Linked DNA regions of Homo sapiens: region 2 is linked to region 1. The links are contacts of gene promoters, found by promoter capture Hi-C in blood cells and fetal thymus (Javierre and others, 2016). All regions are on one chromosome and are shown on one strand. The core of a region is centred on a gene start or on the middle of the fragment in contact, and the rest is flanking DNA. Distances in the headings are between cores, read along the strand shown.

Region 1 (2,601 bases), core at 102-2,601:
GTGTCCTAGGTTGGGGGAGGTACCCCAGCCCTGCTCACCTTGTGGGGCCCGAGCTCTAGGGCCATCACCTTGGTCAGCATGTCCAGGGCACCCTTGGTGGAGCCTACGAAGAGGAACCCAAGCTGGCTGGGGCTGGGGTCGGTGATGAGGGCGAGGCTGGGGCTGGGGTGGGGCTGAGGGCACAGCTGGGGCACTCACAGTAGACGCTATGGTTAGTTACTGCCCGCTGGGAGCACTGGCTGGAGACATTCACGATGGCCCCTGGGACTCCCCGGGCTATTAAGCCCCTGGCCACAATCTGGAATCGCAGCGAGACCGTGAGGCAGAGCTGGCATCACTCACGAGAATTCCCGTCCAGCCCACAGGGCAGCTCACCTGCGACACCTGGATGACCGCACGCAGGTTCACCTCAAAGGATCTAGAGGCCGAGGGACAGACCCTGGTCAGAGATTAGGGCTGCTGCGTCCTCCAGGACAGCCCCTCCCTGAGGTTCCTCCGCCCTCACAGGCTCACCTGTCAAAGGCCTCCTTGGTGACCTCCAGGAAGGGCTGCAGCAGGGCGACAGCGGCGTTGTTCACCAGCAGGTCCACGGGGCCCACGCTGCCCAGCGCCCGCTCGGTGGCCTCCCAGTCACCCAGGTCCACGCACACGGGTTCTATCCCCGGGCACTGTGTGTATCAGGGGGCAGTTACCAGAGGCTCTGTGCCCAGCAAGCGGCACAGCTGGGGACTGGGGCTGGTGACCTTTCAGCCGGACAAGTAAAGGAGTTAGGAGTTCCGAAGGTGTCGGGACTGTGGGGCCAGCAGCCGGGCGCTACCTCCGGCCGGTTCACTTCCTCCCTGCGCCCGAGCGACTCCTGCCCGGGGCCTGCTTCGCAGCCATTTCGGCCTCTTTCTGAGCCCGGGGGCCCCGGCGGCTCTGCCGACCACCCGGCCGCCCACGCAGGCCACCAGCCCCGAGAGAGGGTGCGCGGGCGCCCAGGCCGCGGTGAGAAGCGCAGCGCCCGCGAGGGGAGGCGGAGTCGCGCACAGAGGTACCGCCCCCGCTCGCTGCCGCCCCCTCCTGGCTCGCCGCCTCGCAGCGCTGGGACCCGGCGGGACCTACCTCGCGGACAAGGCTGTCAAGATCCGCCTGAGTCCGGCTCACAGCCACCACCCGCGCGCCCGTCGCGTGCAGCGCCTGGACCGTGCCGCGCCCTATACCTGCCGGGAGCGGGCTCAGTGAAGGCGTCCCCTGCCCGCCTCTGCCCGCCGCCGGCCTTTGCCCACCTTTCCCCGCCGCCCACCTTTGCCTGCCCCGGTGACCAGCACCCGGCGGCCCGCGAGGAACAGCTCCATGTCGGCGCAGTCTCCGCCCTCCGCACTGGGGCTGCGGAACTTGAAGCTCTGGCCACGATGGGCGGGGCGCGGCGGGGCCAATGGCAGGGCGGCCTTCAGATAGGCGGTGGGGACATTCAAATAGCTGCTCCCCGCTGCAGTGATTGGCCGAAAGGAGTGGGCGCGCCGGGGCGGGGCGGGGTCTCCGCTGCCTCAGGGACGGGTCTTTTGAAGTGCCTGGTGTGACCCATCTTCCGTGCTTGAAATCGACGTAGTGGACCCTGGCTAGCATATTTTTCCCTGCCAAGATTATTGCAAAAAGACGATGTGGTGGTTAATATCGGAAAGAATGTGTGGTTAATATCAGGAAGAACACGTGAAATGGAGAATTTCAGGGCTAACATTTCTTGTTTTGTTTCTGAAAACATCGGCATGTCCTAAAAAGTGTCGCCTGTGCCCATCATCTCTCAGGCTTGGGAGCAGGACACCGCCGGCTCACTTTAAAGCCAAGGGAAAGAATTTGGACAACCAACTACGTCTGGAGAAGACACCAATGTCAGCAGAGCTCCGCTTTCATCTGTGGGCGAAGGATTACCTAGATGCCAAGGCAAGAGACTGAAGACACAAACTGTTTCAGTATAACAAAGAAAATAGGCCGGGAGCGGTGGCTCACGCCTGTAATCCCAGCACTTTGGGAGGCCGAGGCGGGTGGATCACGAGGTCAGGAGATCGAGACCATCCTGGCTAACACGGTGAAACCCCATCTCTACTAAAAATACAAAAAATTAGCCGGGCGCGGTGGCGGGCACCTGTAGTCCCAGCTACTCAGGAGGCTGAGGCAGGAGAATGGCGCGAACCCAGGAGGCGGAGCTTGCAGTGAGCCGAGATTGCGCCACTGCACTCCAGCCTGGGCGACAGAGCAAGACTCCATCTTTAAAAAAAAAACAGTTAAAATAAAAATAGTCATAATACAAATTAGATATAAAAATGATCATGATCATGGATAATTATCAATCATTAGTATAAACATTATTAATCATTAGCTTTTAATATTACTCTTTGTTGCATTACTAATATAACCTAGGGACATTGTGAGAAGTGACCTAGAAGGCAAGAGGTGAGCCCTCTGTCACTCCCGCATAAGGGCTGCTTGAGGGCTCCTTGGTCAAGCAGTAATGCCGTTGTCTGGGAAGCCACCCGTTACTTAGAAGACTGCGAAGGGGAGTCTCCTTTCCTTGGAGGCGTCAGGGAACACTCTGCTCCACCAGCTTCTTGTGGGAGGCTG
Region 2 (6,930 bases), core at 791-3,290, 140 kb after region 1:
GGAGGCCTTGGCCCCACAGCTGGAGGGACTGAATTCTGCCAACAGCTGGGTGAGTCTGGAAGGGACCCTGGGCCTCCAAGGAGAGGCAGGCCTGGCCATCATTGATTCCAGCCTGGAGAGACCCTGAGCCGGGAATGGCTGAGCCCTGCCCAGGCCCTGGCCCCAGAACCTGAGATAATAAATGGGTGTTTAAAGCAGCTAAGCTGCTAAGTTTGTGGTAATTTATACACAATGTGTTCTTGTTTTGTTTAATTATTTTTAGGTTTTTTTTGGATACAGAGTCTTGCTCTGTCACCCAGGCTGGAGTGCAGTGGCGTGATGTTGGCTTAGTACAGCCTCCACCTCCTGGGCTCAAGTGGTCCTCCTGCCTCAGCCTCTTGAGTAGCTGGGACTACAGGTGCATACCACCACGCCTAGCTAATTTTTTGTATTTTTAGTAGAGACGGGGTTTCACCGTGTTAGCCAGGATCGTCTCGATCTCCTGACCTCGTGATCCGCCCGCCTCGGCCTCCCAAAGTGCTGGGATTACAGGCGTGAGCCACTGGGCCCAGCCCCACAGATACATTTTTAAATCCCTGTAACTGCAAAAATAAATAAATCTTTAACACAACACAGCAGCTGTCACCATGCCTATCTTCCCACTTTAAACAACTGGGACACTGGGCAGTAAATGGGGCACGGCTTTCACAGAGCGAACGATGAACACACGAGCGGTGCGGGGCTGAGGCCCCTCAGAGAAGGTCCTCGCGAGATGGGCCCACTCGCCGCCCGGCTTCTCTCCACAGGCCATTCCGGATCCCCGCAGGGACGGCAAACCACGCAGAGCACGGTGGTCTTGCTGTGACGAGGAGATGAAGGTTGGAGTTTGGAGAAGCTGAAGTGGCTGAAATGGGCTTTATGAGGCAGAGGGGCAGAGAGGAGGGGAACCTGGGATCTGTGCAGGGATCCCCTAGAAGCTGTGGCTGACAGCCACATGCAAATACACAGGAGAAGCCAACACCGGCTGGGCCAAGAGCAACTCGTGGGAACGAAGCAGCCAGCACGGGGCTCCACGTGCGCTGATTCCCAGAGCTCGTCAGGGCGGCCGGCGGAGCATCCTTGGAGCTCTCGCTCCAGGGCACGCAGTGGGGTCTGGGAGTCATAGTGCTGAGTCAGCCCTGGTGAAAAGGCTTCTCTAGACCTGCCCCACCTGCCCTCGCACTGATTTTAAACAAGTCTCAAATGGGTCAAGCTGCCATGTAAATACTTAACTGCAGCCAAACAAAAAACAGCACAGCCAAAACCAGATGCTCGCCAACATCATATTCACCATGTCTGACATCCAGTGAAAACTTACCAGATGGGCAAGGAAGTAGAAAAAAATGTAGCTCTCTCCAGTAGAAAAATCAGCCCATAGAAACAGACTCAGAAATAAAGATATGATGGAATTAGCAGATAAATACATTTAAGCAGCTATTACAAATAAGTTCAGAGATTTAAAGGCAACCGTGCACATAATGAGGAGAGAAATTAAATGTATAAAAAAGTCTAAATATTGTAATATGTGCTGTTTTCTTTCAGTGAATGGAAGAGTTTAACGAAGAAGGAACATTGGAATCAAGAGTTGAGAACATAAGCCAGGCGGGGTGGCTCACGCCTGTCATCCCAGCACTTTGGGAGGCCAAGGCAGGTGGATCACCTGAAGTCAGGAGTTCAAGACCAGCCTGGCCAACATGGTGAAACCCTGTCTCTACTAAAAATACAAAAATTAGCCAGGCGTGGTGGCGCATGCCTGTAATCCCAGCTACTCTAGAGGCTGACACAGGAGAACTGCTTGTACCCAGGAGGTGGAGGTTGTAGTGAGCTGAGATTGCGCCACTGCACTCCAGCCTGGGTGACAGAGTGAGACTCCATCTCAAAAAAAAAAGAAAAAAAGTTGAGAACATTATCACAGCATGTTTTTTTTCTTCTGCATTAGTTCATATTATGAGGGTTTTCTACATACACAAGTAATAGGTAAATCTAAATGTGCTTTCTTGAAGATACATGATGTTTTATTTCAGTCAATGGAAGTATTTAACAAAAAAAAAAAAGAATGCTGGAAGGAAGAGCTAAGAACGTTATTACAACATGTTTCTTTCAGCATTGGTACTTTTCCTTTTTTTTTTTTTGAGACCCAGTCTCGCTCTGTTGCCCAGGCTGAAGTGCAGTAGCACCATCTCGGCTCACTGCAGCCTCCGCCTCCTGGGTTCAAGTGATTCTCCTGCCTCAGCCCCCCGAGTAGCTGGGATTACAGGCGTGTGACACCACACCGGGATAATTTTTGTATTTTTAGTAGAGATGGGGTTTTACCATGTTGTCCAGGCTGGTCTCAAACTCCTGACCTCAGGTGATCTGCCAGCCTTGGCCTCCCAAAGTGCTGGGATTATAGATGTGAGCCACCGCGCCCGGCCCACCAAACATTTATTTATATTTTATTTTTTATTTGTTTATTCATTTTTTTGAGACAGAATCTCACTCTGCTGCCCAGGCTGGAATGCAGTGGCACGATCTGGGCTCACCAAAACCTCCGCCTCCTGGGTTCAAGTGATTCTCCCACCTCAGCCTCTGGAGTATCTGGGACTACAGGCGTGAGCCACCATGCCTGGCTAATTTTTGTATTTTTAGTAGAGACGGGGTTTTACCATGTTGGCCAGGCTGGTCTCGAACTCCTGACCTCAAGTGATCTGACAGCCTTGGCCTCCCAAAGTGCTGGGATGACAGGCGTGAGCCATCACACCCGGCCCACCAAACACTTTTAAACCATCAGAACTCACTTACTATCATAAGCACAGCATCGGGGAAACCGCCCCCATGAGCCAATCACCTCCCATCAGGGTCCTCCCTTGACACATGGGGATTACAATTTGAGATTAGATTTGGGGGGGGACATAGAGCCAAATGATATCATACAGCATACACATTCATCAAAATTCATCAAGTGTAGAGTTAAAATGGATGAGTTTAGCATATGTATTCTGTAATAAAGTTGACTTGAATGTGTATGGGAAATAGAATGCTATCTTTGTTCAAGGAAGTGTTCGCCCCAACGGATAAGAAACACATGAGGACATGAACAATCAGACAAGACAGACGAGGAGATTCTTTGTTTTTGTTTTCCTTTTTGCAGAGATGGGGTCTCACTATGTTAACCAGGCTGGTCTCCAACTCCTGGGTTCCAGCAATCCTCCTGCTTCTGCCTCCCTAAGTGCTGGGATTATAGGTGTGAGCCACCACGCTTGGCAAGAGGAGATTCTTAGTGCAGAATCAAGCAGGAGCACCTTTATGGCTCTTATTACAGACTGAGAAACACCATCCTCTGGCCATGCTCCCTCCAGCAGGCGGCCCCTTCTGCATGTCTTCCCACACCACCCCTGCGTGACCAGACATTCTATCTGTCTTGTTCACTGTCTTTCTCCCCCAAGAAAATGTGAGGCCAGGGACTCAATCTGTTCAGTTTTGAATCCTTAGTACCTACAACAGCACCTGCCCATAGGAGACCCTCAATGGAAACATCTGCCTGGGGACAGTTACCTTTCAATGTCCTGCTGGGATCGGGCCACCTGTGCCTTGAGCTTCACCTCTTCTTCCTGCAGCGTCTGAATCTGAAGGTCTCTGGAGACCATCTCCTTAGATAGTTGAGCAATTTGAGCATCCCAGGCAGATTTTACAGTTGATGCATCTTCACGAAGTCTAAACATAGAAGGGAAACTATGTAGATGTGGTTCTCACTCACTAAAGTTGTCTCTTACACAGCACCCCCCAGCAAATACACATGCGCGCGCGCGCGCGCACACACACACACACACACACACACACACACACACACACACACACACACACAGCTCTCGAGCTGAAACTTCCTGGCCTAGATGATGAAGATGGTTCCGCACAGGAAGAATTAAGCATCCGTCCACCCAACTACCTCCATGCATGCATGCATCCCACCAACCCAGATTCCAGCTAAGCTCCTGCAGCACACCAGGCCATGTGCCAGGTTCTTGGTGGGCGGAAGGTGAGGCATGACATGCCTCCCATGCCCACAGAGCCCACAGTCATGAGGTAGCAACACCTCTGACCAAGTCACCCTCATGTCCTCGCCATGCCTAGCACAGCACCCCACGTGCAGAGACATTCAGCACATTTTCAAGTTGCATGGTAAAATAAGGTTCTACAGAACCCACTAAATAACCTTAACAGCAGGATGCCTCTGGGAGAATTACCCAAAATGGAATAAATTTCCCAAGAAAATGTTCGGGACAATATCTAGAGCTGTTAACTCAGGTAGCCACAGTACTAACCTAGGCAAGATGATACCTGCCCACTTGCATGGGCGTAGCCCTGTTTCCCTAAGAGATGGGAAGACGGCCCACAAGAGCAACTGTAGCATCACACACGACAGACCTTCAGATGCTCCTGTGCTGATGAACTTCCAACTGACAGTGAGAAGCAGAGGGTGAGCTGGCTGCCCCCACAGAGGCCACCCCTTGTCACGAGGGGTTAAACCTAGCATGAGTGGTGCACTCAAGCCTGGTATTATATAGAATGGAAAAAAAGCCACCCTGCCAACAGTTTTGGACACATATTTTAGGACAGCTGAAAAGAGACACCATCAAAGGCATCAACGTTTCCAGCCATCTCTGGCAATGTGGGCTGACACAGAATGTGTGTTTGGACTCCTTCCACGCTTTGCGTGGGTACTGAAGAAACAGACTCACCAACGGCCTCTGGTGCTCTGGGAAGCAGCTTTATCCCTGGACCATGAGCCACCTAATTATGAGGGCCAGCCCCACTCCCAGCATCAGGATGGTGATGTGACTCTGCCTGGGGCCTCCTGGACAGTCTCCCCTGATGCACAGTCTCAGGTGTAGATCAATGGGCACGGCTGCTGAGCCCTCACTGCAGGGACAGAGGACACCACGGCCACGAGCGGGAGTGCACTGCTCACCACAAGAGCGTAAATGCTTTTTGTGAGAAGCCAAGGTGGAAGGATCACCTGAGCCCAGGAGGTCGAGGCTCCAGTGAGCCATGATCGCACTGCTGCTTTCCAGTCTTCTCTTTCTTCTGCGTAATGGGATGGTTAAAATAAAAAAGAAGGCTGGGCATGGTGGCTCATGCCTGTAATGCCAGCACTTTGGGAGGCCGAGGCAGGCAGACTGCTTGAGGTCCCAGAGCTCGAAACCAGCCTGGGCAACATGACTAAACCCTGTCTCTACTCAAAATACAAAAATTAGCCGGGTGTGGTGGCACGCACCTGTAGTCCCAGCTACCTGGGAGGCTGAGGGGGGTGGATCACCTGAGCCCAGGAGGTGTAGGCTGCAGTGAACCGAGATCACGCCACTGCACTCCAGCCTGGGTGACAGAGTGAGACCTTGTCACAAAAAAAAAAAGGAAGAAAAAAATGCTTTCCTGTTAATCCTACAGGTTTTCTCTGTAGTTCCAAACTCCAAACCAGCACAAAACTGCTGAAAAACCTATTAAGAACTACAAAGCTGGCCAGGCACGGTGGCTCATGCCTATAATCCCAGCACTTTGGGAGGCTGAGATGGGAGGATCACTTAAGTCCAGGAGTTTGAGACCATCCTGGGCAACATGGGGAGACCCCATCTCTACTTCATTTTAAGAAAGAAAAAAAGGAACTGAAATAAATATGGCTGTCACTTATTTCTATTTTTTTAGTTAAAAAATTATTTTTTTAGAGACAGAGTCTTGCTCTGCCTCCTGAGTAGCTAGGACTATAGGTGAGCACCACCGTACCTGTCTAACTTTTCTTTGGGTAGACATAGGGTCTTGTTTCGTTGCCCAGGCTCAAGTGATCCTCCTGCCTCAGCCTCCCAAAGTGCTGGGATTAGAGGTGTGAGCCACTGTGCCTAGCCGAGGTCATCATTTAATGCCAGCTCATACTTGGGATCATGGGATCCGAATGATAGCTGAACTCCCCAGAAGTAAAAGAGGAAAGATACAAGCTTTAGAATGTAGAAGTCTGTTTCTTACTACCAAAATAATACTGCATATGTGTAGTAATAATTCTCAATGAGCAAAGAGTATTTACGGACAGAAAACGAAAAGACATTCAAGAACAACATTTAGCTTAAGACTGCAACGGGGGGCCAAGGTTAGGCGCACAGGAGTGGTGACGCCCAGTCACCTCGGCCGCACTACATGGAAAATGGAAGCACCTGCGGCCCCTCTCACCCCGTATACCGACCACAGAGGTCGCCCCGCACACCGACCGCAGAGGCTTTAGGTGCCTCCCATGCATGGCGTCTTCAACCACTCTGCTTGAATCTGACTGATCAAACAACAACACAGCATGCTGAATCTAGAGAAACTATCCTGAATAAGCCCTTAACTTCCTGGTACTGTGTAGTTCTAAGAGCCATTTCCCCCTTAAACAGAAATACAATTTGTCAGAGAATTCTCTATCGGTGGTGGCTCATGCCTATAATCCCAGCACTTTGGGAGGTCAGTGTGGGAGGATCACTTGGGTCCAGGAGTTGGAAACCAGTTTAGGCAACATGGAGAAACCTCGTTTCTACAAAAAATACAAAAATTAGCTGAGCATGGTGGTGCACACCTGTGGTTCCAGCTACTGCGGAGGCTGAGGCGGGAGGATCACTTGAGCCCATGAGGTCAAGGCTACAGCAAGCCGTGATCGCACCACTGCACTCCAGCCTAGACAACAGAGTAAGACCCTGTCTCAAAAAAAGAAAAAGAGGCCGGGGGCGGTGGCTCACACCTGTAATCCCAGCACTTTGGGAGGCCGAGGCAGGGGGATCACAAAGTCAGGAGATGGAGACCATCTTGGCCAATGTGGTGAAACCCCGTCTCTACTAAAATACAAAAAATTAGCCGGGCATAGTGGTATATGCCCGTAATGCCAGCTACTTGGGAGGCTGAGGCAGGAGAATC

Evidence for each region. Contacts are between HindIII fragments. The CHiCAGO score rates a contact against its expected background, and 5 or more counts as called.
Region 2: a contact is called between a fragment that was not itself captured here and the fragment with the promoter of DCXR in region 1, in 7 of 17 cell types (total CD8 T cells, total CD4 T cells, naive CD4 T cells and 4 more). The highest score is 7.3, in total CD8 T cells.

The regions. Positions count from the first base shown.
Region 1 is chr17:82,036,346-82,038,946 of GRCh38, forward strand. DCXR (dicarbonyl and L-xylulose reductase) reads right to left here and starts at 1,352. Exons shown (of 8, transcript NM_016286.4): 1 at 1,286-1,352; 2 at 1,105-1,202; 3 at 514-668; 4 at 376-418; 5 at 199-298; 6 at 39-103. The coding sequence starts at 1,337. DCXR-DT (DCXR divergent transcript) reads left to right here and starts at 1,573. Exons shown (of 2, transcript NR_159948.1): 1 at 1,573-1,923. RefSeq lists a silencer at 743-1,572. The HindIII fragment of the contact is 4,930 bases long and covers 1-2,601 here.
Region 2 is chr17:82,180,222-82,187,151 of GRCh38, forward strand. It overlaps CCDC57 (coiled-coil domain containing 57), which reads right to left. Exons shown (of 19, transcript NM_001394669.1): 8 at 3,553-3,711. Among named protein-coding and RNA genes, the nearest start is that of CCDC57, 29 kb to the right of the region's middle. RefSeq lists enhancers at 1-427, 428-1,394. The HindIII fragment of the contact is 7,884 bases long and covers 1-5,982 here.